3 separate regions of the Homo sapiens genome follow, and regions 2 and 3 are each linked to region 1. Evidence: promoter capture Hi-C in human tissues and cell types (Jung and others, 2019). All regions are on one chromosome and are shown on one strand. The core of a region is centred on a gene start or on the middle of the fragment in contact, and the rest is flanking DNA. Distances in the headings are between cores, read along the strand shown. Region 1 holds the start of FBLN5 (fibulin 5). Region 2 overlaps TC2N (tandem C2 domains, nuclear). Region 3 overlaps TC2N (tandem C2 domains, nuclear).

The links. Contacts are between HindIII fragments. The study calls those that stand out against the background at their distance.
Region 2: a fragment that was not itself captured here is called in contact with the fragment with the promoter of FBLN5 in region 1 in 2 of the 25 tissues and cell types used here (mesenchymal stem cells and small bowel).
Region 3: a fragment that was not itself captured here is called in contact with the fragment with the promoter of FBLN5 in region 1 in 2 of the 25 tissues and cell types used here (adrenal gland and bladder).

The regions. Positions count from the first base shown.
Region 1 is chr14:91,945,516-91,949,568 of GRCh38, reverse strand. It overlaps FBLN5 (fibulin 5), which reads left to right and starts at 1,875. Exons shown (of 11, transcript NM_006329.4): 1 at 1,875-2,356. The coding sequence starts at 2,340. The HindIII fragment of the contact is 12,789 bases long and covers 1-4,053 here.
Region 2 is chr14:91,821,303-91,825,355 of GRCh38, reverse strand. The region is part of intron 1 of TC2N (tandem C2 domains, nuclear); the gene reads left to right. Among named protein-coding and RNA genes, the nearest start is that of TC2N, 44 kb to the left of the region's middle. The HindIII fragment of the contact is 3,467 bases long and covers 231-3,697 here.
Region 3 is chr14:91,851,811-91,855,863 of GRCh38, reverse strand. All of the region lies in intron 1 of TC2N (tandem C2 domains, nuclear), which reads left to right. Among named protein-coding and RNA genes, the nearest start is that of TC2N, 14 kb to the left of the region's middle. The HindIII fragment of the contact is 4,085 bases long and covers 1-3,685 here.

The DNA.
Region 1 (4,053 bases), core at 626-3,125:
TGAGACTCCATCTCAAAAAAAGGAACCCTAGTCTCCCTCTCTCCATCATGTGAGGACATAGCAAGAAGACAGTCATCTGCAACCAGGAGAGGACCCTCATGAGAACCTGGCTATGCCCACACCCTGATCTCAGACTTCCAGCCTCCAGAACTGGGAGAGATAAATGTTATTGCATAAACCACCCAGTCTATGGTATTCTGTTATAGCAGCCTGAGCTAAGACCAATAATACTCATGGTTTCTTGTGCATCCTTCAGGTGATGTCTTTTCTGTACGTGTACAAGCAAGAACTTATGTATTTATTTTTTTTCCCACAAATGATGGCATGCTTTACACACAGTTCTGCAGCTTACTTTTTACATTTATTACTATATTAGATCAATCTATGTGAAATTACCAATATTCTACTGTTTTGACCCACAAAATATATTGGAAACCCTTCAATAGCAGTGCATACGGAGCTGTTTCAGTCTTTTTTTCAAAATAAGATATAACATACATAAGACTTCACAAATATTAAATGTACACACCCCTACATAACCAGCATCCAGATCAATCATTAGATTATTACCAGCACCCAGAAGGGGCTGGGCTGCCTCCCAGTCACTATCTGACTTTGAATTTTATATAAATGGAGTCGTTTGATGTGGACTCTTAAGTGTCTAGGTTTTAATTGGTTGCACAATAGTCCCTTTGGAAGCCCCTTACTTTATTTAACCCTATTGGTGCCTTGCTGATCGACCTTAAAGGTGTTTATAATCTTTTGCTTTTACAAACAATGGGGGGATGAACAACCTTATAAACATAAGGTATTTAAAAAAGTGTTTTACAGGAAATTTCAAACACGTAAAAGGAAATAGATTAGACTAGTATAATGGACACAGCTTCAACAACTATCCACATTCTGTTATTCTCCTTTGGGTAGAATTCCATTTACTTACCCCCAAAAATGCCTTAGGGAAGGCTAAATATGTAGACTCCAGAGGCTCAGCTGTACCAATGAATAGCTGCGTGACTATGGGGAGGTTACCTAACCTCTCTTATCTTCACCTCTAATAACATGGAGATGATCATTCCTACTGCTTAGAGTGGTGGTGAGGACAGGGGACCTGGATCAGGGCTTTTCGGCTGCAGGTAGGAAGATGCAGGTGGAAGCAGATGGGATAGGCCACAGTCCATCCACTGGCGTTTTATAGAGTGAGTGCCTTCTGTAAGATTTCATTGACAAAAGTACTCCAATGGCTTAAAAACAAACAAACAAACAAACAAACAAACAGGAAAAAGAAACAGGTTGAAGCCTCCACTAGAATGAATGCAAAGGACTCAGCATGTCTTATGTGCTGTCTCCACCATTCTGCTTTTCCAGACTGTCCCTTCTTCAAATCACCGTTTAACTTGTTAAAATCACTTTCGAGCCAGGGGACACTTTTCCAGGAAAGCGAGAAAATGCCAGGGAGAATCGGGGAATGAGGGCGGGGAGAGAAAAGCGTCCTAAGACTTGCATTGCACAAGCTGAAGTCTGGAATTCGCACCAGCGGGATTCCATCCTCTTCCCCCCCACCCCACCCCGCTGCTCCCCACCCCTTCTTCGGGAAGATCGCGACTCTCCCGTCGCTCGCCCCAAGCCTCTGCTTCGTAGGTTCTGGTTTCCCAATCGATCGTGAGTTTCTAGTCCCTGGAGCTGCGTGGGTCGTGAGTTCAAGTCCCTTTCCTTCCGGAGGCGACAACGTTCTCGCGGGTCCCCTTGCCACGCAGCGCGGGCGTGCACGCCCCTCCCCGCCGGGCCGCGCTGCCAGCCCCGCCCCGCCCCTGGGTGGGAAGGTCAAGGGGCCCGGGCCCTCCCAGCCCCCGCACCCCTGCGCGCGCCCGCCCCTCGCCTTCTGCCCGGGCGCTCGCAGCCGAGCGCGGCCGGGGAAGGGCTCTCCTCCCAGCGCCGAGCACTGGGCCCTGGCAGACGCCCCAAGATTGTTGTGAGGAGTCTAGCCAGTTGGTGAGCGCTGTAATCTGAACCAGCTGTGTCCAGACTGAGGCCCCATTTGCATTGTTTAACATACTTAGAAAATGAAGTGTTCATTTTTAACATTCCTCCTCCAATTGGTTTAATGCTGAATTACTGAAGAGGGCTAAGCAAAACCAGGTGCTTGCGCTGAGGGCTCTGCAGTGGCTGGGAGGACCCCGGCGCTCTCCCCGTGTCCTCTCCACGACTCGCTCGGCCCCTCTGGAATAAAACACCCGCGAGCCCCGAGGGCCCAGAGGAGGCCGACGTGCCCGAGCTCCTCCGGGGGTCCCGCCCGCGAGCTTTCTTCTCGCCTTCGCATCTCCTCCTCGCGCGTCTTGGACATGCCAGGAATAAAAAGGTGGGTTCTCGGCGCTGGACTTTTCTTTCTCCAGGGTCTGGAAGCCTTGCTAAAAATCCGATGGGTGGAAAATGGTTATGGCTGCGATTCAGGCGGTGTCAGGATATTGGAAAAGGCATGAGCTAGTGATGCAATGATATTGTTAATTATAAAAAGCTGCGCCTCTGTAATTTCCATCTTGAAGCGTTCTTTTGGGAGTGGGTATTTTCTAATACAGTTTCAAAAGCCAGCATCAGAGAGGGCTGCGAAATTCTCAGCGCTTCATTCCTCTTTCTTTTCTGGAAAGGGCAGCAACTTTGTCGTTTTAAGGGATTTTTGTATGTATTTTTTAAATTTCGGGAGGCCAATTACTAGTTCACTAGCAATTACTGCGCCGCATCGGCTGATAGACAAGCAGACAGGCTAGCTGAACACCGCGGGGCTGGATTTGCTCTATGTTTGTGTGGGATTCTCACAGAAGTTTCAAGCCAATGAGAAGTGGGAACTGCAGACAGAGATACATGTAAGCAAATGTTTTGCTATTCTTTAAGGAAATTGCAATTACAGTTAAGTAATCCTTAAGTCTTGGAGAACTTTACCTAAATGACACCCACAGTCTTTATTCAGCGAGCTCTTGAAAACATACTGCTTTGAACAAATTAACCTTGTGTGCGTATGTATGTGTCTGTGGGGTGTGTGTGTGTGTGTGTGTGTGCTGAAAACTAAGCTGTAACAATGTCATCCTGGATTGGGGACCAGCACTTCTGTGACAGGCAGTCCTGGTATTTGGTTGGTCTCTCCGGCTTTCCTTGTGTTTCAGGCTGAGGCACAACACCGGCGAACCCACCTGCTTTAGAAAGTTCCCAGGACCGGTTATGAGCACCAACCTGCCTCCCCCCAGCTATTCTTATAGTTAGTTCATTTTTGGAGTTTCCAGGGTTTTTTTTTTTTAATCACAAGGTGCAGCTATTCGTGATGCTGTGAGGCAGTAGTGCTTGGGTATTCTTTCATTTTAGGAAAATCCTATTAGCCTGGAACCTGTTTGGCCCCCAGGACTCAGCTGTGGCTCTTCCAAGAGGCTGGGCTTGAGGCAAGACCTGTCCCAGGGCTGCCTCTAGCCAAAGGGAATGGGGCTGCGGGGAGTAGGGGGAAAGATGGGGTTAGCATGCCTTTTCAACTAGCTCTTGAAGTCCACTGTGTTGCAGTCAGCCTGTTCTTTCTCCAACATAAACGAGACAGGGTTTTATAACCAACTGAAAGGAAACTTCATGTGAAGAAACAGGAAAACATTGAAATTCATAATACACAGACTGGAAAATAAATTTGTTATTGTTCTTTCATTCCTTCCAGATATAAATCTGGCCATGGCAAATATCAAAAAGCCCTGGGATTTGGCTCTGCACTTTATAAGGTCAGAGCTGTCTCCAGCGTTCTAGAATCTGGCTCACCCAGGCACTTACATGAAAACTTGTGGACTCTCAGCGTCCTTATTTTTTGGATTGGGGACTCGATAAAGGAAATGGCCTCGCATCTCCTAAGATCGTATCAGGGCCCTATTCCCTCTGGATGTCAGCTTAACTCCAGGTCCTCTAATACCCAGGGTTGCTGATGCAGATGGGCCATGTGTCCTGAAAGGGAGGGATTATATTGTTGTGGTGCACGTTTGTAGTAACGGGCCCCAGAATTCAGCCATGTCCCCAGGTTCACTGCTCTGTTGA
Region 2 (4,053 bases), core at 715-3,214, 120 kb after region 1:
GGAAGGTGTGAAAATTACAAGGATGGCCAGGCGCGGTGGCTCACACCTGTAATCCCAGCACTTTGGGAGGCCGACGCGGGTGGATCACGAGGTTAGGAGTTCAAGACCAACCTGGCCAAGATGGTGAAACCCCGTCTCTACTAAAAATACAAAAATTAGCCGGGCATGGTAGCGGGTGCCTGTAATCCCAGCTACTCAGGAGGCTGAGGCAGGGAATTGCTTGAATCCGGAGGCGGAGGTTGCAGTGAGCCAAGATCGCACCACTGCACTCCAGCCTGGATGACAGAGCGAGACTCCATCTCCAAAAAAAAAAAAAAAAAAAAAAAAAAGAAAAGAAAAAGAAAATTACAAGGATTAAGGGGCTCTACTCAACAGAATTCTAGCCCTTGCCTATTTCACAGTTCACCTGCTAACTACTCTTTCTGTTGCTTAGTACCTTGCAAAATAATGCAAAGTGGGTACAACTCAAGATTTTTGCAATTTCTGGAATGCTCCACCATCAAGAACTTTGCTAGCTGATCCTTTCTTGTGTTTATGTTCCAGCTGGATTGTTACCTCCTCAGAGAAGTCTTTTCTGATTATACAAAGTTAACATTCATTCCTTTTGAATCCTGGTTAATTTTCCTCATTGGATTGAATGTATCATGTGTTTGTTTATTTTTCTGTTTATCTCCCTCCTCTGTTGTAAGCGCTCCAAAAGCTTGTCTGTCTTGTTCCCTATTTTGTCTTCAGTGCCTAGCAAATTGCCTAGTACATAGTAGATGCTCAATAAATGCTTGTAAGTGAATGGATGAATTGGATGTGTGGATTTTGGGAGCAGAAGGACTCAAGAATGGCACTTGTATTTCTGGCTTAGTTAATTAGCTGGATAGTGGCACTGTAGTAGGAAATACCAGAGGAAAAGCAGGTTTGCAGGGGAAAGTCGTGATGATGTACTGTCCTTTATTTGTGAGAATACCATAGACAGGCTGTTCCTAGACTATGTCAGACCAGCAGAGGCAAATAAGCCCTTTGGGAATCTCAAAAGGAAGTGATATTAAAAGTATTTTAACAACTTGTCGTGCATGAGCACTGACTGTAATATTGGAGCAGAGTCATGGAGGCCCCTGCTTTTTCAGACATTTACCTCAGGGGTGCCTAGGGAGGAGTTAAAGTGACTAGGGTGTTTATAGCTTTTATCTATTGATATGGAAGTATTTAAGTCTTTTTACAATCTGTCCTCATACTAGAATGTTCTAGCTAAATGTCCCCATATCATTTCTGGCATTGGGTAAAGTGCCTAGCATGAATCAGATCTGTTGTAAGTGGGATCTGATGATAATAAATATAATAATGATGCCGCTGATGACAGCAAACATTTATTCTTAAAACAGCCCTACCACTAGTTTTATACTTTATGTGCATTACTTTGGTTGATCATCACAATAGCCCTAAGAAGTGTTTTGTTGTTGTTGTTGTTGTTGTTTTTTAATTGATGAAGAAGTTGAAGGTTAAAAAGGTTAAGTAACAGATTTAAGGTCATATAGCTAATAAGTGAAAGTTACAGGATTGGAACATAGGCAGTATACTTTTAACCATTTATATTTGTTTCTCCTTGTTGCTAAAAAAGCAAACATGTGGCTATGTAGATAGCCAGCACATAGTCTGTTAACCTGACTGGTCCTGCCCTTCTACCCATACCCTACCTAAAGCAATGTGGTGTATTAGAAAAAGTTGTGAAGCTTAGGGTTTGGTTCTAAACCTAACATTATCTAGTTGCTTGACTCATTATTTTCTTTGGGTAAAATTAGAAGGACTTTGATAAAATGATTTCTTTTTTCTTTTTTTTTTTTTTTGAGATGGAATTTTGCTCTTGTTGCCCAGTCTGGAGTGCAATGGCGTGATCTCGGCTCACTGCAACCTCCGCCTCCCGGGTTCAAGTGGTTCTCCTGCCTCAGCCTCCTGAGTAGCTGGGATTACAGGCATGTGCCACCATGCCCAACTAATTTTTTATTTTTAGTAGAGATGGGGTTTCTTCAGGTTGGTCAGGCTGGTCTCGAACTCCCGACCTTAGGTGATCCACCCGCCTTGGCCTCCCAAAGTGCTGGGACTACAGGCATGAGCCACCATGCCTGGCCCCTGATAAAATGATTTCTAAGCCTTCGGCTCTGCTAATGTTTTTGAGGCCTCTTTTTCTGTTAATGTTCTGTAATTCTACTTATGTATTATTTTTTCAGGTTTATTGAGGTCTAATTGATATGTAGTAAGTTACATATACTTGAAATCGATAATTTGATGTTTTCATGTTTTCATGTATGTATGTACCTATGAAACCATCACCACAGTCAAGATAATGAGTATAGGCTCGGCACGGTGGCTCATGCCTGTAATCCCAGCACTTTGGGAGGCTGAAGCAGGCGGATCACGAGGTCAGGAGATCGAGACCATCCTGGCTAACACGGTGAAACCCCGTCTCTACTAAAAAATACAAAAAATTAGCCATGCGTGGTGGTGGGCACCTGTAGTCCCAGCTACTTGGGAGGCTAAGGCAGGAGAATGGCGTGAACCCAGAAGACAGAGCTTACAGTGAGCAGAGATCACGCCACTGCACTCCAGCCTGGGCGACAGAGCGAGACACTGTCTCAAAAAAAAAAAAAAAAAAGATAATGAGTATATTACCCCCACTCCAAAGTTTCCTCCTGCCCCACCAAGTCCTTCCTTTCTGTCCCTCTCTGTGCTTCATCTCCCCACTCCTCACTGTCCCGAGGCAGCCTCTGATCTACTTTTTGTTACTATTGATTAATTTCCATTTTCTACAATTTTATATAAATTGAATCATGCAGTGGAGTTCAGCTACAAATCAGTATTAATAAGATAGCTAGAAAAGCCAAATTAAAGACAAAATAAGAACTGAAATATGACTTTGTTATTAATAAAGCAAATGCAAGAGAATATGGCACATATCTGTATGGCACATACTCTTTTTGTTGGCATTCTTTTGCCCAGCATAATTATTTTGAGATTCATCCATATTGTTGCATGTTTAACCAGCTTACTTCTTTATTTCTGAGTAGTGTTCCATTGAGCCACAGTTTGTTTTCTAAATGGATTAATCTGTTGATAGATACTTGATAGTTTTCAATTTTTGGCTATTTTGAATAGATTTGCTATGAACACCAGTGTACAACTCTTTGTGTAAACATGTGATTGCTTTTTTCTTAAGTAAATATGTAGTAATGGCATGTCTGGATCATGTAGCAGGTATATGTTCAACTTTAGAAACTTGTCAAACTGTTTTCTAAAGTGGTCATGCCATTTTACAGTCCCACCAGTAGAATAGGAGAATACTACTTGTCACATATCATAAACATTTGGAATGGTCAATCTTTGTAATTTTATCCTTTTTAATCAATGTATATTGTTGTCTTTTTATAGTTTTAATTTGCATTTTCCTAATCACTAACTGTGTTGAGCATGTTTTCATGTGCTTTTTGGCCACTTGTAGATTTTTTTGGAGAAGTGTCTTTTCAAATCTTTTGCCTATTTTTTAATTGGGTTATTTTTCTTTTTATTATTAAGTTGTAATAGTTTTTTATATATGCTGGATATAATCCATATTTTATTGGATGTGTGATATGCAAATATCTTCTCTCAGTCTCCGAGTGGTCTTTTCACTTTGTTAATGGTGTCTTTTAAAGCACAAAGTTTTTAATTTCAATTAAATCTAGTACATCAAATTTTTCTTTGATCATGTGTGCTTTTGGTGTTGTGTCTAAGAAATTACTGCCTAACCCAAGTTTACAAAGATTTACTCCTATGTTTTCTTCTAAGAGTTTTGAAGTTTTAACTCTTACATATAGGTGCATAATCAGTTTTGAGTTAGTTTTTGTATATGGTGGGAGGCAGGGATCCAATTTTTTTTTTTGTGGGAAGGGCATGTGGATATAATGTGGATATAAATATTGATATTCAGTGTCCTAGCACCATTTGTTGAAAACACTATTTCTTTCCCTTTAAAATTTCTTGGCACCTTTGTTAAACATCAATTGACTATAAATGTAAGGGTGTATTTCT
Region 3 (4,053 bases), core at 394-2,893, 93 kb after region 1:
TCACTTCTGACTCCAACCTCGGCACTTCCCTTGAATTCGTTTGGTTCACAGGCCATTTTTACCACTGCCACAACTCCCCTCGCCCCGCACCATCCAATCGTCCCTTGCCAGTTGGCCCTGACATGAGATTCTACCTCTTACTCAATTTCCATAAAAACAAAAATAAACAACACTGTAGTGAGTTGAATAGTGTCCTCCTGAAAATATATGTCTATGTGGAACATCAGAACGTGACCTCATTTGGAAACAGGATCTTTGCACATGTAATTAGTCAAGTTAAGATAAGGTCATGCTGGAATAGGGTGAGCTCTAAATCCAATGACTGATGTCCTTACAAGAGGACACACAAAGATACACAGAGAAGAGGGCGGCCACACAAAGATGGAAGCAGAGTTGGAGTTTTGAGGCTATAAGCCAAGGAACTTCAAGGATTTACATGACCAACAGAAGCTAGGAAGAGGCAGGGAAGGATTCTCCCCTAGAGCCTCTGGAGGGAGCATGGCCCTGCTGACTCCTTGATTTTGGACTTCTGGCCTCCAGAACTGTGAGAGAATAAACGTCTGTTGTTTTAAGCCACTCGGTTTGTGGTACATTGTACAGCAGCCCTAGAAATTAATACAGTGCATTTGCATTTGGGTCTGTAGGCAAATTTCCTGAGGATTTGGGAGTGGAAGGTGGGACAGAAGCGAACCTGCTTTTCAGCCCTCCATCCCTGCCGTTCCACTGGTTCCCACTTCAACCACCCATCCTTCCTTTCCCCTGCTCAACTTGTTTCTTCATCTCCTCTTTCTACACAGTCCCCAAACTCCAAATTCATCCTACTCTATTATGCAGAACTCCAGCTCCCAAACTCAGCTCCCAGCCCATTGTTCAGGTCAGAACCCCTCCAGATCCTCAGCTGCACAAAAATACGTTGCAAGGAATAGCAGCCTCCTCTCAGAAGGGAGAGGTGAGTTTAAAAAGCTATCCCTATCCCTCTTTGGGGAGGACTGGCTCCTTCTCTATTTCCTGTCCTTCAGTCTAGCAGAGGCAATGGGGTGGGCTGAGCCAGGCTTTGCTCTCCCCTACTCCTCAGAATATTCAGGGTATGGATTGTGGAAGTGGAGAGGGACCTGTCCGTCTGTCAGTTAGTCTAGACTGATAAGACTGTCCCCTGTGTCTGAATGCTTCCCTGGGTGCTTCAAGGAGATACTAAAGGAATACAAGAGGTTGTCCCTCCCTAGAGGAACACTCCAAAGACAACCCTTAGTCTTTCTTCTTTAAAAAGCTTTGTTCAGTTTGTTTGGTCTTTTGCATCTTCAAATAGGAATCTCTTATGTTTTACCCCCTCCTCCTCCTCCTCCTCCTCCTCCTCCACCTCCTTCTCCTCCTCTCCACCTCCCCTATCTCCTCCTCCTTCCCCTCCCCCTCTCCTATCTCCTCCTCCTCCTTCCCCTCCCCCTCCCCCTCCTCCTCCTCCTCCTCCTCATCTTATGTGTAGAGCTTTTAAAAGTTCTGTCACTTGCTATTTTATTTTATTTCTTATCCTCGTACATTTCTAAGACCCATGGGTAAGTATTTTTCCTTCCAGTTTCTATAGGAAATAAGGAAAATCAAGCCCAGGGTAAAGTAAGTTGCCCAAGATTATCTGTGTTTAAGCCACAGAACTTGCCCTAAACTCTAGGCCAGTACCCTGTCTGCAAACCCTATGGCTTTCTTAGAGTGGTCAGAAGCTGTGCCTTTAGCCTGGAAAAACCTATTTAACTTAGATCAGCCATCTCCTGTTAGAGCTAGAGCTGAAGTTTGGTTCCACTTCAAAACCACGCTGTGTTTTAAGACTTCTAACCTATTTTTAAATTTAAGTTTATAAATCAGTTTTTAAAACTCTGTATTTTGACTCTGGATTCAGAGAAATATTCTTACTAGGTTACACGAATATTTTGAAACTCAGTACTTACTTTTTTTTTTAATTCAATAAAAGTTTGCACAAACAATGCATCCCACAGGAGAAGCTTATGCCAGATCCCAGATGTTTAACACGTTTGCTTCAGATATTAAGAGTTCATGGCCTCTTGTGCTTGTTAAACCAAAAAATGCAAGCCCATAGAAATGATTTTTAATAACTAGGAGTGCTGCAAGGTCAGGCTGAATTCTGGGCAACTGCAGCACTTCAATAACTTTTTTGATCACAGATTGTGTGTGTGTGTGTGTGTGTGTGTGTGTGTGTGTGTGTGTACTTTAAAAAAAAAAAAAAATCCAAGCAGAGAATTCAGTGAAGGGCAGCATGAACTCTTACTTTTGACTCAATTTCACTTCAATTGATACATGCAGAAATGTTCAAAAAGTTCCTTTTCTAATTCTGACATCAACTATCTAGTTTGTAATCACTTACCTGGGTCTGCCATGCAATGAACCAACCATCTACTATTGAGTCTTGGGGTTCAGAATGCCATTATCGCAGTGAACATCTACTGGGGACTGACTGTGCCAATTATTATGCTGTGTATATATCATTTAACCCTCATACCTGGCACCTTCACTCCTACACCCTGAGTCCCAGCCACCTTCCTCTCTCACCTTCATTATAGGCAGAATCAGTTACCTGGTCCCTCTGCCTTCACCTCTGCCCCTGTCCCTTCCATTCTATTCTCAACCCAACAGTTGGAGTGATCTGTACTAAGGTGAAATCAGTTCATGTCATTTCTCAACTCCAAACTCTCCAATGGCTTCTCAGCCTATTTAGAGTAGCAGCAAATGTTTAATAACAGCCATGTTGTGTTTTTGTTGTCGTTGTTTGTTTGTTTGTTTGTTTTTTAGATGGAGTCTCTCTCTGTCGCCCAGGCTGGAGTGCAGTGGCGGGATCTCAGCTCACTGCAAGCTCTGCCTCCCAGGTTCACGCCATTCTCCTGCCTCAGCCTCCCGAGTAGCTGGGATTACAGGCACCCACCACCACGCCTGGCTAATTTTTTGTATTTTTAGTAGAGACGGGGTTTCACCGTGTTAGCCAGGATGGTCTCGATCTCCTGACCTCATGATCTGCCCCCTCTGCCTCCCAAAGTGCTGAGATTCCAGGCGTGAGCCACTATGCCTGGCCAACTCTACCCCATGTTCTTCTGCCCTCTCTTCCTACCCTTCTCTTTCTCTTTCTCTTGCTCCAGTGGGTCTGGCCCTCTCACTGTTCCTCAAACATGTCATGCAAATTTCTTGACATGGTATGGTTTACTGGTCAAGCTAAGATTAAAGCACACACATTATATTACATCTATTAAGGTAGGAAAGTGGGAGATCATTTGCTTTAAACAACCAGTTAGTGATCTATTGGTGGGGGTAACAAAATTCAAAAATTCTTGATACTCTATTCTTTCACAACAATCTTTGCTTTAGGAAATGTGATCAAAGGCAGGTTTCCCGATTGAAAAAGTTAAGGCTAGTGAGGCAGAGCATTTTTTTTTTTAGACGGAGTTTCACTGTTGTTGCCCAGGCTGGAGTGAAATGGCATGATCTCCGCTCACCGCAACCTCCGCCTCCTGGGTTCAAGCGATTCTCCTACCTCAGCCTCCCGAGTAGCTGGGACTACAGGCATGCACCACCACACCCGGCTAAGGTTTTTGTATTTTTAGCTAGAGACGGGGTTTCTCCATGTTGTTCAGGCTGGTCTCAAATTCCCAACCTCAGGTGATCTGCCCGCCTCGGCCTCCCAAAGTGCTGGGATTACAGGCGTGAGCCACCGCGCTTGGCCGCATTTTTATTCCAATAGAGTATGCCTATTGCTGAGAGACTGTCTGTTTTCACAAGTACAATGTTAAGGATTGTGAAATTTACATTATGGGAATCTAGTACCTGTGATTAACTTATTGAAGCATTGAATGAGCAATGATACTTGAAAACTAAGGCCATCTTGAATAGTTAGAAAATGAATCATTTTGGGAAATGTACTTCAGATAATTCAGAAAATACTTTTTGAAGCACTAAACCTTTAAATAACTTTAGTTATTTTGATGGATGCTAAAAATAAAGTGTGGACCACTTTTTGTCTTAGTAGCTAGACTCCACCACGTATAGAGTTTTACTTCA